Regions from separate parts of the Homo sapiens genome. Here all the other regions are linked to region 1. The links are contacts of gene promoters, found by promoter capture Hi-C in blood cells and fetal thymus (Javierre and others, 2016). All regions are on one chromosome and are shown on one strand. The core of a region is centred on a gene start or on the middle of the fragment in contact, and the rest is flanking DNA. Distances in the headings are between cores, read along the strand shown.

What was found. The method cuts DNA at HindIII sites, captures the fragments that hold promoters and counts their contacts. A CHiCAGO score of 5 or more calls a contact.
Region 2: the fragment with the promoter of CFAP107 here is called in contact with the fragment with the promoter of PDPN in region 1 in 2 of 17 cell types (erythroblasts and megakaryocytes); the score reaches 6.5 in erythroblasts.
Region 3: the fragment with the promoter of PRAMEF12 here is called in contact with the fragment with the promoter of PDPN in region 1 in 4 of 17 cell types (endothelial precursors, M2 macrophages, M1 macrophages and 1 more); the score reaches 7.8 in endothelial precursors.

What each region holds. Positions count from the first base shown.
Region 1 is chr1:13,581,981-13,585,766 of GRCh38, reverse strand. PDPN (podoplanin) reads right to left here and starts at 1,935. Exons shown (of 6, transcript NM_006474.5): 1 at 1,667-1,935. The coding sequence starts at 1,733. RefSeq lists an enhancer at 1,494-2,032. The HindIII fragment of the contact is 6,524 bases long and covers 172-3,786 here.
Region 2 is chr1:12,744,419-12,748,204 of GRCh38, reverse strand. CFAP107 (cilia and flagella associated protein 107) reads right to left here and starts at 2,005. Exons shown (of 4, transcript NM_152290.4): 1 at 1,664-2,005. The coding sequence starts at 1,774. The HindIII fragment of the contact is 5,629 bases long and covers 681-3,786 here.
Region 3 is chr1:12,772,146-12,775,931 of GRCh38, reverse strand. It overlaps PRAMEF12 (PRAME family member 12), which reads right to left and starts at 2,194. Exons shown (of 3, transcript NM_001080830.5): 1 at 778-2,194; 2 at 1-389. The coding sequence starts at 1,064. The HindIII fragment of the contact is 4,010 bases long and covers 1-3,786 here.

The DNA.
Region 1 (3,786 bases), core at 686-3,185:
TCTGGCAGCCAGGCAACTCAGCACCCACCCTCACTCAGCCAGCCCCGCATACCACTTCTTTCTTTAGTAGTGGAGTTTCCAGCACCAACGATGGTTTTTCGGTTTTAACGCCATCTTTTAGGAGTACCTTTGACATTCAGGAGCCGGCTGAAGGGAATCACAGCTAAAGCTTCCCTGGGCAAAAACAAAGGATGTTACCCAGCAGCTTTTTCTTTAGCAGGGCTGAGATGCTGAAGTGAGGGCGCTCCCTTGCTTTGCCCTGGTGAGCACAAAACGGTGTCATTTGCACATTGTCTCGCCAAAAAGGAAATGTAACTGAAAATACAGAACTGTATATATTCCAGTGGAAAGAGAAGTTCCAAAGATAGGACTGCTACGAATAACCCACGGCCCCTATAAAAAGAGTTGCTCAGTCCCTTTGAAGCAGACAGCACAGCATAGAGCAGAACTCTGTCATTTCCCTGAGATTGGGTATTTTTGTCTGTGTGGACCATTGTAGGAGGCCAGGTTAGGCGCACCCCTCCTGCAAACCGCTCCCTCTCCAAGAAGTATTCCTCAGGGCCTAGGCCTACCTTGATCCTCAATTTTTGGAAAATGTTTACTTTTCACAGCATAACTCAGCAACCTCCAGCCCCAAAGATCACGAGTTAGGTTACAATTCCTTCAACCAACATTTAGTGAGCAACTACTATGTGCCAGGCATTGTTTTGGCCGTGGGGAATCATGGCTGGATGTAGCTGCGTCCTGCAGAACATATGTTCTATTGAGGAAATATAAAAATAAAAACCCAAGAAAAGAAAACAAAATGTTGACAGATGTCAATGGAGACCACCAACACAGCAACCCAGCGGGAAGAGGTAAGGCTCCAGGAGAGGACAAAGGGTAATGGAAGCTGTGGACGCCCCCACCCCAACATGGGATACAAAATATTTAAAGCCTAAGGAGTCACCAACAGACATTCAGCCACTGATGTTGTTGCCCAAGATGAACACGTGGCTCAAACCCACTTAAACCTCAATGTTCGTAACGCGTAACAATCCTCATGCACTCACACTCCTCGGAAGCCTCCACTTGGATCCTTTCCACACACACTATCCTCTCTAAAGAGGATAAAGGAGGCCTCTTCCAGTCCAGTGACGGGGTGCTGAGTGTGTCCAACAGGCAGGGCGCCAGACTAGGTAGTCCCAAGGGGGACCAGGGCCACCGCAGGGCGGGGAACCCTCCCCTTGGCCCAAGCCCTCCTGAACGTCCCTCCTGATTCTACGAGGCCAGCTTCTCCCGAGGCGTGCGTATTCCTCCAACACACCGCTCTATGGGAAGGAAACCCCAGCCACTGCTGCCAGCAAGCGGGGCTGCCTACTGTGAACCTTCCACCCGATCTCTCTGGTGCTGCCGACTCGGAGGGAGGCCCCCTGTGCTGCCCACCTCGCAGCCTGTGGATTCCGGGGCTCCTCCCGGCACACCCGCGCAGCTGCGTCTTTGGGACCTGGCACCGACTAAGCCGCTGCCTCTCCTCCTCCGGCGCTCAGCCGCCTGACACGCACACACCCTCAGCTCCCCCGCGCTCCCCTGGACAACCTCGAATACCAGGCCCGGGCATTCCAGCAAGTCTCTGCTCGCTCGTCCCCATCAGCGACGGCAGGAAGCCACTTGCGCTGGGTCTTACCTCCTTCTGCCAGGACCCAGAGCGACGCGCTTCCCAAAACGAAGAGCAGAGCTGACACCTTCCACATCGTTCCCGTTGAGTTGTTGCTCTCCTGGGGGCCGAGCAGCAAGATTCTGAGCTGGGGGAAAATTAAAAAGCACCGCGGCCACAGGCCCAGCCTGGAGGAGCGCGACGGTGGGGGGGCCGGAGGGGTGGGAGCAGGAGCCCCGGAGAGGGAGGGTGCCCGAGCTTCCCAGACCCTAGGCAGCCGGACAGCAAACTTTGCAGTTGAGAACTTTCCGAGCGGAGTCAGCATTTATCTCTCCCGAGGAGGCGGGGGAGCGGGGTCGGCCGCAAGGTGGTCTCCGTCCGGGCGCGCTAGGCCCGCCCTCGGGCTCTGTTTGGCCGGCGCCAAAACGATGATCTCAGGCCAGGTTTAAAGTTACAGGGCCGCAGCTGCGGGGGCCGCCAGGACTGCGGGCCCTGGCAAAATGGGCTTTTATTCTGCTCAACAACAGGAGGGAAAGGGACCACATGCAACAAACGGGGTTTTAAAAATTATATATAAATTTTAAAAAACCTATATTTATTATTATTATTTTTTTAAGAGTAAGGCACAAGTCTATGTTTTTCTTGTTATGGGCAGAAGTGAGAAGTAAACTGTTTCTTGAGTGGCCAGTAGTTTTAGAACCAAGCATGGGGTTTTTCCTGTAAATATTGAATTTGATGGCTTAAAAACAAAAAAAGTTGGCCGTCATCTGGGTGGGCCAGAGGCGGCCCGCGCTGGTCAATTGCGCCCTTGTCCCGGGGACCGGAGCGGGCGGGCTCCGGGGGGCTGCCCCAGAGCTGGCTGGTGGGGGAGTTTGGCAGACCGGGTGGCTTTGGCAGTTTTGAAAAAGAGGCTGAACTCCATCCGCCTCTGCCGACCCGGGGATCCAGCGCTGCGATGCTGTGGCCCACCGACGTGCGCAGTTGGATTAGGCCGGGCCAAGCGGTGACCCGTCTGGTCGCCAAACCTGTGTCCCCTTCCAGGCCTGGTTCACCCTCTTTATTCCTGAGTTTGCTCCCATAATCCTCACTTTACTGGTTTAAGCGATCTTGCCTTGATCTCAGGTACCAGATATCAGCAACCAGAGAACTTACGTCTTTTACTTTAATTCCTTCTGAATTGCTGGAATTTAAAAAAATAAGAACAGGAGTTTGGGAAGTGGTCTCTGCTCCACTCCCAGATGCCACAAATTCCATTCAACAAAAGAACCTGAAGACTAACGCTGTCTCAAAGCTCCACATTGCGTGAAAATTGTTTTCAGATGCTTATCTTTGACCCCTCCCCATTATAAATTTACTTTCTAAGAATCACAGGAGAGATTGTTTTAAATAAATGCCCAGTTTCCTGGGTTCCACCCCAAACTCATTAATCAGACCTTTTCGGAATTCCTATTTTAAACCAGTGTCGCTGGAGAACTTGTCCCCATGAACATTTGGCAAACCTTGCCCTTCATCATAGCTTCTCAGCCAGATCTACCTGGGGCACTGGTTATGCAGGTGCAATTCTGTTGTGGGATAGGGAGAGATTCTGCATTTCTAAAGATCTCCCAGGTAACGTCTTGTCCTGGGGCTACAAACAGGAGCTGAGCACCTGAACCTAGAAGATGAGGGGTAGCGGCAACACCCCTAGAGCCAAGGAGTTGGAAATGTAAAGAGAAAACTCGTGATACAGATACTCTTTCTTGAACTGACTTCCCCATCTTGGAGATGCATTTTATGACTCTAGTGTCAATAATGTCTGTTGACAGGAGGAATAGTGCATTGTCTGTTGAGCCTGTTAGATGGAGAATAGATGCACATCTATTCTGCTTATGTGTAACTCCAAGGTCACACACAGAAAGAAAGATGGCCCGCTTTATTCAAAAAGATTGAAACACAGTGAAGCCTAGGTGGGGGAGATTGGGTTACATGCAACTAATTTAGAGGGATGCTGAGGCTAGGTCATGATTCAAGGACACCTGCCTTCTATCCCACACCCCCGGATGTGTCTAGAATCTAGAAGGTTGGTCACATGACCTTTTGATCAGGATGGAGGAGTGGGAGGTAATAAGGAATTGCATTCAGCTGGGGGTCCTGGGGTGGGGAGAGGGGCC
Region 2 (3,786 bases), core at 756-3,255, 840 kb after region 1:
AATCCCTCAGGCAGCCCCAGACAGGTTCAAATGTTGCTCCACTCACTCTGGATTTGAAAGAGGGAACTTGGAGCCGAGCTGCCACTTACCCTAAAATGCAGACTATGCTGTGCTGTGCTGGGGTGGTAGTAGGAGAGGACAAGTAAAAACATCATGGAATTTCCTATTCATTTTGAATGTGTCTTTTTCTTGATTGGGCATTTGATTTGTCGCTATATATCTTTGACTGTTTTCCAGAGCTCCTATAACGTTTTTGTGCTTTTTTCTTTAATGTTTCCATGGGGAATGAGAACCTGGAGCTTCTTAGTCTGCTACCTTGTTGACATCACTCCAACTCCACTATTTTTATGCAATCTTCTCTAGGTGTGAGACCATCCCATAATATCCCTGAGTACTGCATCACCCATGGGCACCTGAAGGTATTTTCAACCAGTCCTTCTTGCTTTTGGAACTTCTCTTGCACACACCTGCTCACCAAACAAGGCCAAGTACATTTGTAGCTGATGATGACTGAAGGTTGTATCTGGCCAGAGAGGTGGTGATTACTAATGTTCTCCAGGAAAACAGCCTTTAACCTTCCCTTCTTTTCCCCATACCAAAGCTGAGTATTCTATTTCACCTTCTTTTCCTTGCCCACTTCCCAAGAAGACATGGGGAAGTCTAGATGTCTCTGAAAAGCTTTAAGTGGCTCAGTCTTGCCAAACACAAATGAAGATATTCAATTTCAAGTATGCCAACTTGAAACTTTGCCAACTCAGGCAAAGTATTTTCCAAAGACCTTTAAAACACAGTGGAAAACCAAGAGCCAAATTGTTCTGTTTGAAAGCAAAAATTGAGGCCAGGCACAGTGGCTCATGCCTGTAACCCCAGCACTTGGGGAAGCCAAGGTCGGCACATCACTTGAGCTCAGGAGTTCAAGACCAGCCTGGCCAACATGGTGAAGCCCCATCTCTACTAAAAATACAAAAAATTAGCTGGGCATGGTGGCATGCACTTGTAGTCCCAGCTACTTGGGAGGCTGAGGCAAGAGAATCGCTTGAGCCTGGGAGGTGAAGGTTGCAGTGAACCGAGATCATGCCACTGCACTCTAGCCTGGGCAACAGAGCGAGACTCTGTCTCAAAAAAAAAAAAAAGTAAAAATTGAAATGCATTAGTAGGGCAGGATTGTGGAAAGGTGCCAGAGAGCAGCAGCAAATCCCTGGACATCAGCACAGAGAGTGGCAAGCTGGCCTCAGGAGATACCATATTCTGGGAAGGGCCAGAATGAGGAGAGCAAATGTTCTTCAAATTAAGGTACAAAGGAATTAAGGACAGAAAACATCCAGATGCCTAGAAACACTTCACTGAGAAGAGTGCTGAGAGGCACGACTATATTGACACCCTGTTACAGTATTTTCAATGCCCCTGTTATATCTGTAAGAGAGTGTCAGTGGTCTTTTCGATAACCATCATGTATGAAACAGTCATAGAAACCATGCAAAATGCGTGAATATTGATGATTGCTTGAATGTAACTATCCTTTGTAGAGCACAGAGACCCCAATGCCACATTTTTAAGATGCAATCATCTGCTGCCCTCCATTTGAAAATAGTGATGAACTTCACTCCTGCCTCTCCCCATCAGTCCCTCTGAGCCCTCTCTCCAACCTCTCTCGTTTCCTTACCTTTCTCCTCTCTTCCATCCAATTTCCAGTGAGCACTTTCGTTGAATACTTGGTCTCAATCTGCCAGCTCGGAGTAGAGAGTGGCTGTGGATTTACTGCAGTCAAAAACATGTTAAGGATTTGCCCCAGGTTTCTTTGACTTGATGCAGTTTAAGGCTTCAGGCGGGGAGAGGAAGGTGTTATGAAGTTGCTGAGTTTGGGGTGCCTATTTTGTCTTCCCAGCTGGCCTCCTGAATGGCTAGTAGATGACTCCTTGCTAACCTCAGAGAATAAAACGGCCCCAAGAGTTCACTGTCAGCCTTTAGGGAGAGTTGATCTATCTTGGATTCTCTACTGTTGACTGTCTCCATGGTGACAGACTCTGAGTATAAATACTCTCTGTAAGAGAACAGCTGATTCTGCAGAAGCAAAATTGACCTCACAGAAACAAATCAAACCAACCACCACACCACAAAAGCAGTCGCCAGAAGAACCTGGTTTCTGTGTTCTCACCACAATACTAGTATCATCCTTGCTACACTTTCACATTTGGGGTGAGTTAAAGTCTGCTACTATTTAATGAATGTTGATGTGCTTGCTCCAAGCAAAGACATTTATGCACATTTATTCACCTGTTTAATCCTCACAGCAGCCCTCTGACGCAGATGCCATTATTATACCCATTTTACAGATGAGGACACTGAAGCAAAGAGATTAAGTAGCTGCCTAACATCATGCAGTTGTGATGGGATTTAAATCCACGCTGGTTCAGACCTAAACCAGTGGGCTCCATTCATTTCCTATCTGCTACTTTGTAGGGGCTTGCACAAAGAATTCTGTCTTTGTGCTCACACTGGTATAATATGCTTCATTTGCTCAGTCTTCATTCATTCATTCCACAATCATTTCCCATTCTATGCCAGGTGCTTAGCTACAGCTGCAATGCATTAGCAATTAGACCTGGGCACCATCCCCACAGAGCTCAGTCCAATGAGATAAGGGCCTTTGTCTTGCTCATTCATTAGGAAAAAAAAAAAGTCAAAAAGCACCAAGATATCCATCAGCAGAGGGCTTGTTCAATAAACTGTAATACATCCAGATGATGAAATCCTCTGCAAGAGTTTTAAAGGCTGACTTTAAAAGATGCCTATAACATGTGGTTAACTAAACAAAACTCTGTGTGCTATAGTATTGCTTGCTAAAAGTGAAGAGGCTGGATTTCGCTAGGCAATTCAGAGAAAGTTTCCAATGGCCTTCAAACAAAAATAGAGGAACTCCAGGAAACTATGTGTTCCATCTTGAAACTAAGCCTGAGGCAGGAAATGACCATGAAAGATGTTCTGCAGGTTAGAATAAACCTTTATTTAGCAGAGACCACAGTTGGGGCAGGGCTGGAGCTAGGAAGAGGAGGTGTCCTTCCAATTAACATGCAGAGGAGGCATGCGTTCGGTATAATTTAATTTTTTTTTTTTTTTGAGACAGAGTCTCGCTCCGTCGCCCAGGCTGGAGTGCAGTGGGATGATCTCGGCTCACTGCAAGCTCTGCCTCCCAGGTTCACGCCATTCTCCTGCCTCATCCTCCCAAGTAGCTGGGACTACAGGCGCCTGCCACCACGCCCAGCTAATTTTTTGTATTTTTAGTAGAGACGAGGTTTCACCGTGTTAGCCAGGATGGTCTCAATCTCCTGACCTCGTGATCCGCCCGCCTCGGCCTCCCAAAGTTCTGGGATTACAGGCATGAGCCACCACACCTAGCGCGGTATAATTCAATTTTCAAAACCTTTTATTGTCGCATAAAACACAAATATCAAAAAGTACGTTAAAAATAAATGTACAGATAAATGAATTATGGAATAGCAAAACCCCACAAAAAACACTGAGCTGGTCAAGAAATAAAATATCGCCAGCACGCCCAAAGTACTCCACATGTCCCTCCCACTCACAACCCATTCCTCCCCTAAAGGAAACCACTCTCTTGACTTCTATAGCAATCACTTCCTTGCTTTTCTTTATATGCTTACTGCCAAAGTATGCTCTTAAACAATAATGTTCAGTTTTGCCTGTTTGGGGACTTTCATATAGTTTCAATCCTATAGTATGCAATGAGTCTGATTTCCCCAGTGGGGTTAATATTTTTAAGATTCA
Region 3 (3,786 bases), core at 945-3,444, 810 kb after region 1:
GGTAAGGGGCGAACCTTATAAGAATGGACAGCTCCCACGGGCAGCACACTTCCACCTCCTGGATACAGTCTAGCTCCACCGTGTTCAGGACCTCTATGATCCTGTGGATGGCTATTCCAAAAATCTGCAGCTCCTTGCAACACACGTGCAGTAAGCCTTTTCTCTGCTTGCCCCACTCTAAGAAGTGGGTGAGGCATTCATCCAGCGTCCCATTCTTGAAGCAAAGGTCTAGGATCACCATCAAGGGCTGCTGCCCACCCGGCCTTGGACAGTTCCCTGCTGTTCGTCTCTTACTCAGGGCCTCTGGGGAGAGTGCAGAAGCTCCAGACCATATGCCCCAGAAGTTCTCATCCACATTCCGCAAGTCCAACACTTGAAGTTTCCACCGCCTGTGGGTAAAAGAGAAGAGAGGCTCCAAATTTAGGAAGGATTTGAGCTTTTATCCACATCCCGGACATCAGCGACTCTCCTCCCTGCTGCTTCTCCCACTCTCTGTCTTTTCTCCATCCCTCTTTCTCCTTGAAACCTGCCTGGTCCCCACTGCTAGTGTCTTCAATTGCCACTGGCAGGAGGCAGGTTCCTGATCCTTCAGTGGACCCTGCATGGTGAGCAGTCCTTTCCCAGAGGAGCTGGACAATGGCCAAGGCCTCTCTGAGCTTCCTCCCCAGCCCCATCAGAAGTCTCTGGGCCACCCTTGGGCCTCCCACTCCTTCTGACCCAGCTAACCCTACCCTGGATGCCTGAGCCCTCCCCACCTGGTTAGCTGGGTCACCTCACCTGGGGCGAACCTTCTGGGCAAGCAGTGCATCAAGCCCCTCCAGCACAGCTCGAAAGATCTCTAGATTACATGACTTCATCAGGGACCCTAGAGGAAGGCAGGTGAAGGGCCAGGCCTGCACCATAGTTGTCAGGGTCTCGCAGCATCTCCTGGTAAAGGCCTCCATGAACAGTGGGGGAAAGAGCTCCCTGGGCAGCTCCTCCAGGGTGGGGATGGCCAAGGCCCGGTCTCTCAGCAGACTCTGCTCAGCCAGCTCCAGGAGTCTAGGTGGGGCCTGGAGGCTCATCCTGATGAATCTAGAGAAAAAAACATCATTCTTACGGCAAATCACATCACTTCATCATCTCCTAGTGCCAATGTCATTGCTCTGGTAGAGGTGGAAAGGTAATTAGTTCACCCCAATTCCACTCTGCACTTTCTGGACACAAATCTGTAATTCTGCCCTTGCTGGTACCATAAAGAATGTCTTCCAAACAATGAGGAGAGGGCAAGGTAACCACTGGCCCATTCATTTTCAACCATTGCTGCACTAAATCTCAGTAACACTGGGAAGCGTTGCTGAGGATCCTGAAAGCTAAGCTCCACCTTTTTGAGAAAATATTTCTTGTCACTTACCACCCTAAAACAATGGGAACGAGAATGTCCTGTGGCCCCACACAGCCTACATTCTCAGTTCCCACAATTGACATGCTTGCAGAAGACTAAAGGGACTCCTTGGAATCAGCGCCATTATTTTTTATTTTGAAAAATTGTAACAAGAAATTGTAAAAACAGCATGACAGTGTTCTAGAGCCTGTGAAAGTTAGGGATAAAAACACTAACTCTCAGATGAAGGTTCCAATGTTGATCTCTTACACAGACTCACAATGACCCACTTTGGGATGGAATCTAGGGGAAAAAAATGGGTCCCATGTTCAGAACAAAGACTCCACTCTTGAGAATGGCCTATGGAATATCTTTAAGGTATTAGTAAAAACTAAGGCCTAACATGTAAAATCACGATGCCACCAAGTCTATGAACTATAATTTAAGGGCACAAAAACCAATTATTTCAAATGTCACGAAATAAAAATTCAACCAGTTGTAACTTTTTAATATCTCTTGTTAAAAAAAAAACTGCTTCAATAAGAATTTTGAAATGACAAAAACCAAGCACAAATCCAATTTTGGGGGATGAAGACAAAACTACATTTAGAGGAAAAATCAAAGCCTAAATTTGTTCTTCTGAAAACAGACAAGAAAATTCTCTCTGCCACCTTGGGCTGCATGTCACCATCCCTGACTGGCTGGCTGGCTGCAGATCAGATGGGCATGACCCTAAGGAGGTGGTGACTTACCAGATCTGGACTCAGTTTGCAGGGTGCTGCAACCTCTCAGAGAACCGAGCAGTAGCTCCAGGTGTCAGCGCCTTGGATTCTCTCCTGTGCACCTTCGGGAGCTTTTATGGACCTTTCTAACCACACCCTCCCCATCTCAACAACCAACTTCCAATCAGAAAATGATGTCTGATTAGATTCTGAAGTTCCACCCAGTTAATCCTGATTGAGTTTGCGACTTTCTTCTGATTAATTGATTGGATCAGATATACGTTTATGAAAGTGAAAGATATAAATAATAGGGTGAAAGTCCACAACTCATTCATTCCTTTATTCCACAAACACTGATGGAGTTTGACTGACATGAGAGCTTCATAGTGATGCAGGAAAGGGTTGAATCTGTTTCTGGCATTTGACAGAAAAAACAAAACCTGAAGGTATCTTTGCTGGGGGATCTTTGGCCACATAAACATTATCAAAATGTCTCAGAGCTAAAACAGCTCTAAGAAGACAGTAATTTCATCCCTAAGAAAGCAGAATAAATATCTCTGCGTATCCAGTGGTCAGCTGGGATTTACGCTTTCTAACATGGTAGATCATATGCCCATTCAGGTGGCAGAGGGGAACCACTGAGGGTGTGATTGATCTCAAGACGAAGGTTCAGGCTTCTCCGGAGGAAATTAAACCAAAATTACAAAGTGAGGTGGGGGCTGGGCAGGATGGGACCGGGTGTTCTAATGGGACCCTGGGAAGGAACCAAGACAGCATAAAACATGGTGGGTATTTTGTGGGAGAGGAGACGGAAGGATTGAAAGACTCCATTTAGATTGAATTCAAAAACTGAAAAGGAAATAATTACAAAAGAGACACTGTAGACTCAAAACACAATATTGCCTTTGAGGGCATGGGACGAGATACAGTCTTGGTCACCTCTAGAAGGTAAAGCGTGTTTACTCACAAAAATGATGGGCACCCCTCAGAAAACCAGCTTCGGGAGATTGAATCTGAGAATGTGAGCTGGGACAGAGGCCAGACAGAAGCACAGTGGCCAGGCCTAAGAAGGGAGACTCCCCCAAGCTGGAAGCCACAGAGGGTGGAAGCTGTGGGCTCTGCAGGACATGGGGGAGAAATGCACAAGGGTCCGTGTCTCCCTGTCATGGCGCTATGGTCTGGAAATCTTTCCTTTAGACTCAGGGATCTTCCCACAGTGGAACATTTCCCAGCAACCCTCAGGTCCAGGCATTTCCCAGGGCCCTTCATCCTCATCAATCCCATCGGCCCCTTTCCAGGTATATTTTGATCATTAATGTTTTCTCATCCTTAAAGTCCTCTCTTGTCCCTAATATTGAACATAGAGATTCTGATCAGAACAACAACATTAGGCATATGAAGAAAACTCAGGCCAGGCACGGTGGTCACTGGAGTCCAGGAGTTTGAGACCTGCCTGGGTAACATGGTGAAACACTGTCTCTGTAAAAAAAAAAAAATCTACCTAGACATGGTCATGTGCACCTGTATTCCCAGTGACCCCATAAGCAGAGATGGGAGGATTCCCTGAGCCCAGGAGGTCAGTACTGCAGTGAGCCATGATCGTGCTGCTGCACTCCAGCCTTGAGACCTTGTCTCAACAGAGGGAAACCCAACAGAGTGAGACCTTGTCCCAAAAAAAAAAAAAAGAGAAACAAAGAAAAT